Linked DNA regions of Homo sapiens: all the other regions are linked to region 1. The links are contacts of gene promoters, found by promoter capture Hi-C in blood cells and fetal thymus (Javierre and others, 2016). All regions are on one chromosome and are shown on one strand. The core of a region is centred on a gene start or on the middle of the fragment in contact, and the rest is flanking DNA. Distances in the headings are between cores, read along the strand shown. Region 1 holds the start of ADAMTSL3 (ADAMTS like 3). Region 2 overlaps SH3GL3 (SH3 domain containing GRB2 like 3, endophilin A3). Region 3 overlaps SH3GL3 (SH3 domain containing GRB2 like 3, endophilin A3).

Region 1 (2,598 bases), core at 61-2,560:
CGGAACGCAGCAACCACAGAGAAGGCAGGAGAACAACTTTAGGGGTGAACAGTCCAGGCTCTAGAGAGAGGCAGATAGGGGTTCCAGTCCTGGCTTCTCCACTCATGGTGGGCAAGTTATCCTCCCAGCCTCAGATTTATCCTAGGTGAAATGGGATAATGCTCGAACTACTGCTGCTGTGAAGATCAGATAGACACAAAGAGCTTGGTACTCGACAGACACCCAAGGAAATGGCGACTGTGGTAGGACTTAGGTGGGGGCATAATGCAGCCTTTAAGATCAATCTCCTGGCCCTTGGCTTATCCTGCTGGGACTAGGACAAGGACAGGGACAAACATTTCCTTTTACTTCTCCTCACCTCCAGAAGTACACAGGCAACTCACCCCAGTCTCTTGTCCGCGACACTCTTCCCCCCAACCCCAAATCCCAGGCCTGGACACGGCATGATTCTGGCACCTGTGGAGCTCTCAGTTCCCCAAGCCCGGCTCAGACAAGGAGGCGCCAGGTACCCAGTTAAGAGGCGCTCCTGCAAGATCCTCGTGGTCCCTGGCTGCCAAAGGTCCCAGGCCTCTGGGCAGTGAGCGCTCCACAGTCCCTTGTGTGGCGTCTATGCTGCGCGGAGGAGGCGCAGGCCAGGAGAGGGCCATTGGTCTCCACTATGGTCCTGCCTGGCCAGGAGTGCCTATGGCTCTTAGGCACGAGCCAGCGGTTCCGGGCAAACCTCTGTGTGGCTGCTGGGCCTGACTTTGCAGAGCTGGCGCCCGGGTCTGGGCGGGGTGGGTGGAGGCTATGGGAGGTGGGGCCGGGGGTGGGCTCGGGGGGAGCGACGGCATCCCTGCTCCGGCTCCGGCTGAGGCGGGGCGGCCAGGCTGGCTTGCGGCGCAGCGGCCGCCTTTCCCCAGTGCGCCTGCCGGCGGCGGCGGTGGCGGCGTCGGCAATCCCGGCTCTTGGCACAACGCCTGGCGGCCGGCCCAGGGCGAGGAGTGGCTTCCAGGAAGCGGGCGGAGGAGCGTTCCAGCCGAGTCCCGCCGTCGCCGCGGCCCCGCGCGCTCCGAGCGGCCCGGGCCTGGCCCCACACGGCGTCTCTTCGCGCCCCCGGCGCCTCCAGCTCAAGCCGAGGGCGCGGTGCCGGCGCGCAGGCTGACGGGCGCCTGGGCGCGCCGTGCACTTGCCGGGCGGTGCAGGTGGCGGCGCGCGCCCTCCGCCTCTGGGCCGGGGCCAGCGCAGCGCTCTGCGCGCCCGGAGGGGGCGGGAGAGGCGGGGCAGCCCCCGTCCCAGCCCCATTTAACTTCGCGGCGGCGGCGGCGACTGCGGCGCCGCGGGCTGGAGGCCGGCGTCGGGGAAGGTCCTGGTGCCGGATTCCGCACGAGGTGTTGACGGGCGGCTTCTGCCAACTTCTCCCCAGCGCGCGCCGAGCCCGCGCGGCCCCGGGGCTGCACGTCCCAGATACTTCTGCGGCGCAAGGTGGGTGCACCGAGCTCGGCGCAGGGCGGCCCCTCAGGGGTCGGGGGAAGGCGCTCCCCAGAGGGAGTAAGACTTGGAGCAGTGGCCTCTCTAAGCAAGTTGGGGGTCTCCAAGCAGAGTCGGGGCGTGCCACGCGGGCCCCAGGGGGCCTCAGGACTGGGGTGCTCCTCACTGCTGGGCACCTCGGGTCGGGCGCGCTTCGTGCCGTCCCGGAAGGTTCAGGGAGAGTCTTTCGGCGGCAGTTCGCGGGCTGAGGGGCGTTCTTGATTATGGGGGAACTCCACAGGGTTGGAGTTTTTCAGGATTGGGAGTTACTAAGCAGAAACCTCGCGGGTCCGAAGGTCCGGCCGGTTGACCACTGGGTAGCGAGCGCCCAGAACGCCGGGGGTTGAGGCGACGCGCGATCGTGGAAAGTGGGCGTGGGGGTGACCGGGACGCGGCGGAGGCACTGGAGGAGCGACTTCGAGGCAGCGGGTAGTCGGAGGAGTGTGCACTCGGAAGGCTGGTGCGAGCAGGCGAGGGTGGCGCAGAGTCCCAGGGCCCCGCACTGGCCGCCTCCCTTCAGCCAGGAGTCGCCGCCTCAGGTCGGAAACAGCAGCACATTTGCGGATCACATTAGACCAGGCCCTTAATGCCTTCTCCAGATGGAGAGAAGCCACCGACCCGCCCCCGGACACCAGCTCCGCCAAGGCGCCCGCGAGGCGAAGCGGGAGTCGAGTGTGACCTCGGCTTTTCCAGTCTCGACTCATACTGATTTCCCTGTAAATTGACAGGAAAAGTAAGGGAAAAAGTCCCCGCTTCCCTCCTGGTTTCAGCTGACCTCTGCTGGCTGGCCCTCACCTACTTTTAGGAGATTGTGTTAGGCTGGCTCAGGGGCTGTGTCCTCCAAACCTCCCTGAACTTAGCTCTCAGGCGTCTCTCTGGGTGTGGGTCCCGGACCTCGAGGGCGCACGGTGTCATCTAGCGAGGAAAGCCTTGAACTATCAGAAGATCTGCGTTTCAGCCCTAAAATGTCACTATCTTGCTGTGTGACCTTAGGCAGGTCCTTTCCCTCTCTGGGCGGCTTTGTTGTCTTAGACTCATTTTTGCCGCGAGCAGCAGAAGCTAGCCTAAACCTTGGCTCTGTGCTGGCTT
Region 2 (2,598 bases), core at 26-2,525, 83 kb before region 1:
TTTTGTGAATTGTGTGTTTGTGTCCTTAGCCTGCTTTTGCATCAGGAGGTCCATTTTTTCCCCCCTGTCTCATGAGCTCTTTAAATGGTCAGGATATTTGCTCATTGGCTGTCTTGTATGTTGATGAAGCTTTGTCCCAGGTAAGCATTTGCCTTCAGACCTTGTATATGAAGGTCATTTCAATGGAGAGAGATTTTTATTTTTTATTTACTGAAGCTCTTTAGTCTTCCTATATGGTTTCTAGCTTTTTGGAATCATGTTTAGAAAATCTTTTTCATCCCACTCCCTGGCAAATGATATAAACGTTTATTTATACTTGTTTTTGAATCCTGTATTTTCTTTTATTGCCTTTAAATTTCCAAGCTCCTGCATTTATTGGAGCTACAGTGCAATAGGGTTCTAATTTTGTTTTCTAACAAATAAATAGCTTGTTTCAGTACTGTTGAAAAGTCCAACTTTCTCCTGATGATTTGAAATGATTCTTTTATTATAGGCTAAATTATTATACATTAAATTTGTTTATGGTCTTTCTCTTCCGTTTCTTGATCTGTATCCTGTTTTGATTCAGTGTCATATTGTTTTAAGTATTGAAGTTTTAAAACATACTTTAATATATTATTTACTAAAAATTTAGGTATTGTATTGCAAAAAGTTCACAGACACACTTACTGGTTTTATTTTTCCAGGTGAAACTTAAGTCCCTTTTATTTAAAAAAGTCATTAAATTTTGATTGAGATTCATTTAAATTAATACATTAAATTGAGGATGAATTGGATTTAATATATTAAGTATTCCCAAAGAATTTGGCATATTTGCTATTCATATAGTGGTAACAAGGCAGGAGATGGAAGAGATGGAAGTTGAGAAATCAAATATTTGGCCACAGTAATCATTCTAGGAAATTGGAGGAAATATCTTTTGAAAAAAATGTTAAAACTCAAGCATTAAAACACGAATTAATTAGTGACAAAGGGTAATATTATCCCTCAGAGCAGTATAATGTGAATTTTATTTTATTCTAAGGGCCAATGGGGACAAGATGGCCTATTTCTTACTCTGAAGGCACATCAGTGAAGGGAGCAGGTGAAACTGCCAGGCAGGCCTTGAAATCCAAGGACACTCCTGCCGTGCATCTGGCCTTGGCGACAGCCAGACAATTTGGTAGCTTCCCAGGTGCTCGGCAACCGAAAAAAACTTGGGATGAGGAAGAGAGCTGATGTCAGCAGGGCATCAGGAACAGATGGATTTCTGCTCTTCCAAGGAAGAGGCTGTGCCGTTGGATGTTTTCTTTTGGGGGGCCACATACTGGGACCTCCTACAGTACAGAAACCTCAGTGGGTGGAGGCTGAGCCCCACACCCGTGGAATTCGACAGCGCCAGTCTCAGGCAAGGAGAGGGAATGTTGATTCCAGGGAGGTGGCGGCCCATGTTCAGAGCATCATCTTTGGAGTCTACAGTGTATTTGAAAATGTTTCTGTCAAGGCGAAATGAGCTGACATTGTGAGACACTGGCACTGGTGGCAGAGGGGCTGTGTAGGGGGTCAGGCAATACCATTTCTCACCATTTGGGCAGGAAAGAGTCCACAGGCTAGGAAGGGACATTTCGTCTTCATTTAGGAATTATTTAGACACACTTTGGAGAGTTGAGCTAAGGAAATGTAGCTTCCAAGGAGGAATGAAGCTACCACTGGGTCCGTATGGAGTCCTGGGAAGCCTTAGTTTAGAGTAACGGTTCCTACTTCTGTTTTGCAAGGTCCTCTTTAGTATCTTTCTGTTTTTTTTTTAAGGGAGGTGAGGCACATGTTGCCATCTCTATTTTACAGGTAATTAAGTTGTCCATGCCCTCACCTGGTGGGTGAAACAACTCAAAGGTCAGACTTAGGCTGGGCTTTACGGTCTTCTTCAAGCCTAGAAATGGAGCAACCCAATCTCCATCTTTTTACAAGATCAATTTGGAAAAACCCAAATATAGGAAAAATAGTTCATTCTAGTGCAGCATTTCCCAGGGATGTTTTCTAGAGACCCTGCAACCCTCATTGTACAGAGAACTAGAGGGCACCTGGTTTGCAGTAATCTGGCAAATTACTGCCGATTAACCGGACTGAGATAGCACACTGTAATCCAGGAAAAACTACCTGCCACTACCCGAGCCAGGAAGGCTGGCCTGGGCTCCAACGCACCAGCAGACCCCCACCCCACCCTGCTGACAGGATGTCCCATGTGACACTGGCAGGCTTTCTTTGACATCAGAGAGGGCAGGGAGGCTTAGAACCTTCTAGAAGGATACGGGGAGTAGCCTTGAGAAGATCCCACGGCTAGAAGCTGAGATGTTTTGTTGGTTTATTTCTATTGTAATTTTTACTGGTTAACACTTAGCCCCATGAGTGAATCCTTTCATTGTTTACAAAGAGATTTTATTCTCAAGCTTCTAAGGAACCCTCCGTGCCAGTTTCCCAAATTACCAGTTTTTTAGAAAGGATCTTTATCCCCATCTAGTGGTCCAAATGGTAAGTACTTCGGTCTGCTAGCCTCAGTTGTATTTTCTGTAGTGGTGAAAGTGCAGACCATAGAGAGGAAAATACAGAAAATAGGAAGCC
Region 3 (2,598 bases), core at 56-2,555, 65 kb before region 1:
CGTGCTCTGTTGCCCAGGCTGGAGTGCAGTGGCGCCATCTTGGCTCACCGTAACCTCTGCTCACTGCAGCCTCCACCTTCCAGTTTCAAGAGATTCTCCTGCCTAAGCCTCCCGAGTAGCTGGGATTACAGGCGCCCACCACCATGCCTGGCTAATTTTTGTATTTTTCGTAGAGATGGGGTTTCACCATGTTGGCCAGGCTGATCTCGAACTCCTGACCTCAGGTGAGCACCTTGGCCTCCCAAAGTGCTGGGATTACAGGCATGAGCCACCATGGCTGGCCCAATTAGTCTTCTTCAAGATGAATTTCACTCACAAGCTCAAATAGGGAGTTGAAAAACTGCATTTGTGATATCACCTCCATCACTTCGGGCTACTCAAGAGTCAGTGTGTAAAAATCGTCCCTTTCATGACCACTGGCTGTAACCTAAGTTCCTGTGCTCAACAAGGCAGAGAGGATGTGTGTTTGGAAAGCTTTCAACATCAGATGTCTGGCTCATCTTACGATGTGTGTTACAGAATATCAGCTGCATCCAGTGTCCCCAGACGAGAATACAAGCCAAGGCCTGTGAAAAGGAGTTCTAGTGAGCTCAATGGAGTTTCCACCACCTCTGTAGTGAAGACGACAGGTAAGTTGACCATTCTAATATGCTAAGTGTGCCTTTAGTAAAGCACTTCTAGAAACACTTATTTACTGCTTGTTTCTGGGTCAGTGAATACACACAGACCCTGGATATCTTTCTTTGGTTGTTTGGTAAATTCCCTTTTCCCCTAAACGTGCCCCTTTTTTCTGTTCCCTGGGGAAGAATTCTATCACTTATATAATGTAGCATTTAGAACCTTGGCCATAGAACCATTATGGCTACATCATCCTTTATTTTTTTAACTCTTTGAAAATATTTTCTTAATTTATTTTTAAGTTGAAATTAGCATTTTTGAGCAACTGCTATATGCTAGATACTATCTTAAGTGCTGCATCGTTATTTTTTATTAAACAAGTGATGCAAATGTGTCTTTTAGTAAAATAATCAAACAGAAAAAAATTGGTAAAATAATCAAACAGAAAAAAAAATTTAATGGTATAAGTCATTCTATAGTCTCTTGTGATCACCTACACCATCGCAGTTCGCTTCCTAGATGTAGCCACTGTTAAAAAAATTTGGTATAACTATTATCATATCTATTGAGGTACATAAATATACACATAAACAGCGTTTTGGATTTTTTTCTGTTTTTTCTTTTTTTCTTTTTTGAGACAAAGTCTTGCTCTGTCACCCAGGCTGTAGTGCAATGGCATGAACATGGCTCGGTGCAGCCTTGACCTCCTGGGCTCAAGCAATCCTCCTGCCTCAGCCTTCCATGTAGCTGGAACTACAGGTGTATGTGACCCTGCCAGGCAAATTTTTTTATTTTTTGTAGAGACAAGGTCTTACTTTGTTGCCCAGGCTGGCCTGCAACTCCTGGGCTCAAGCAATCCTTCTGCCTCGGCCTTCTGAAGTGCTGGGATTATAGGCATGAGCCACTGTACCCAGCCTTTTTTCTGTTTTTTAAATGCGAGATTATACTAGGCATATTGTTTGGCAGTTTGCTTTTTAAAATGTATCACTGTTTCTTCGAGTTATTTCCATATCATGCATATAGATCTATCCCACTGTTTTAACAGCTTCATAGTTTTCTATTATACCATTTCCCTATTGGTGGACGTTAAGGTTTTTTCCAGTTATTTGCTACAGTGAGTATCCTTTATCACTGTGCTGGCTACATTACTATTAAAGCATGAACACCTGCTTCCCCACACCCATGCCAGTAGACTTCCATTTCTGCCAAGCACTCATGAGAAAAAAATGGTATCCAGTCTTAATTTGCATTTTCATGATTATTAGTGAGGGTGAACTTTCTTTTCTATATTTTAATTTGTATTTCCTTATGTCTGAATTGTCTGTTTATGTCATTTATTTGTGTTTTTTGGGAGTAGTTTGCTTTGTCTTATTGTTTTATAGGAGCTCTTTCCATATGAGGATATTAATAATTTTTTTCCTAGTTTGTCATTTATCTTTAAACTTTGTTTTTGGAGTGCCTTGTCCCTTTGTTGTTTTTGCTGTTGTTTGCTTTGTTTAGTTTTGCTTTGAGTATACAGAAGCTTTTATTTTGATGTAGTCAAATGTGTCTGTCTTTTGCTTGTGACTTTACATTTTGTGCCCTGTCATGATTACATTTTGTGCCCTGTTGTGAAAAGTCTTCCTATCCCTGAAGTTATTCTTCTACAGTTTTCTACTACTTTGAATAATCTTTTCTTAATATTTAGATCTTTATCATAAGGATTTATTTTTCTAAATGAAAAGAAATTCCCAAACTATCTTTCAGAGTTGTGCTACCATTTCACATCCCCACCAGCAATATATTAGTGATCTAGTTTCTCCACATCCCTGCCAGCATTTGCTGTTGTCACTGTTTTTTATTTTAGCCACTTTGATAGGTGTGTAATTAATCTTACTGTGGGTTTAATTTGCATTTCCTTAGTGACTAATGATGTTGAATATCTTTTCATGTGTTTATTTGCCATCTGTGTATCCTCTTTGGTGAAATGTTTCTTCATGT

The links. Contacts are between HindIII fragments. The CHiCAGO score rates a contact against its expected background, and 5 or more counts as called.
Region 2: a fragment that was not itself captured here is called in contact with the fragment with the promoter of ADAMTSL3 in region 1 in 1 of 17 cell types (neutrophils); the score reaches 5.3 in neutrophils.
Region 3: a contact is called between a fragment that was not itself captured here and the fragment with the promoter of ADAMTSL3 in region 1, in 1 of 17 cell types (neutrophils). The highest score is 5.1, in neutrophils.

Annotation. Positions count from the first base shown.
Region 1 is chr15:83,652,813-83,655,410 of GRCh38, forward strand. ADAMTSL3 (ADAMTS like 3) reads left to right here and starts at 1,311. Exons shown (of 30, transcript NM_207517.3): 1 at 1,311-1,464. The HindIII fragment of the contact is 5,383 bases long and covers 1-2,598 here.
Region 2 is chr15:83,569,805-83,572,402 of GRCh38, forward strand. The region is part of intron 4 of SH3GL3 (SH3 domain containing GRB2 like 3, endophilin A3); the gene reads left to right. Among named protein-coding and RNA genes, the nearest start is that of ADAMTSL3, 83 kb to the right of the region's middle. The HindIII fragment of the contact is 2,297 bases long and covers 128-2,424 here.
Region 3 is chr15:83,588,143-83,590,740 of GRCh38, forward strand. SH3GL3 (SH3 domain containing GRB2 like 3, endophilin A3) reads left to right here. Exons shown (of 9, transcript NM_003027.5): 8 at 520-629. Among named protein-coding and RNA genes, the nearest start is that of ADAMTSL3, 65 kb to the right of the region's middle. The HindIII fragment of the contact is 1,666 bases long and covers 473-2,138 here.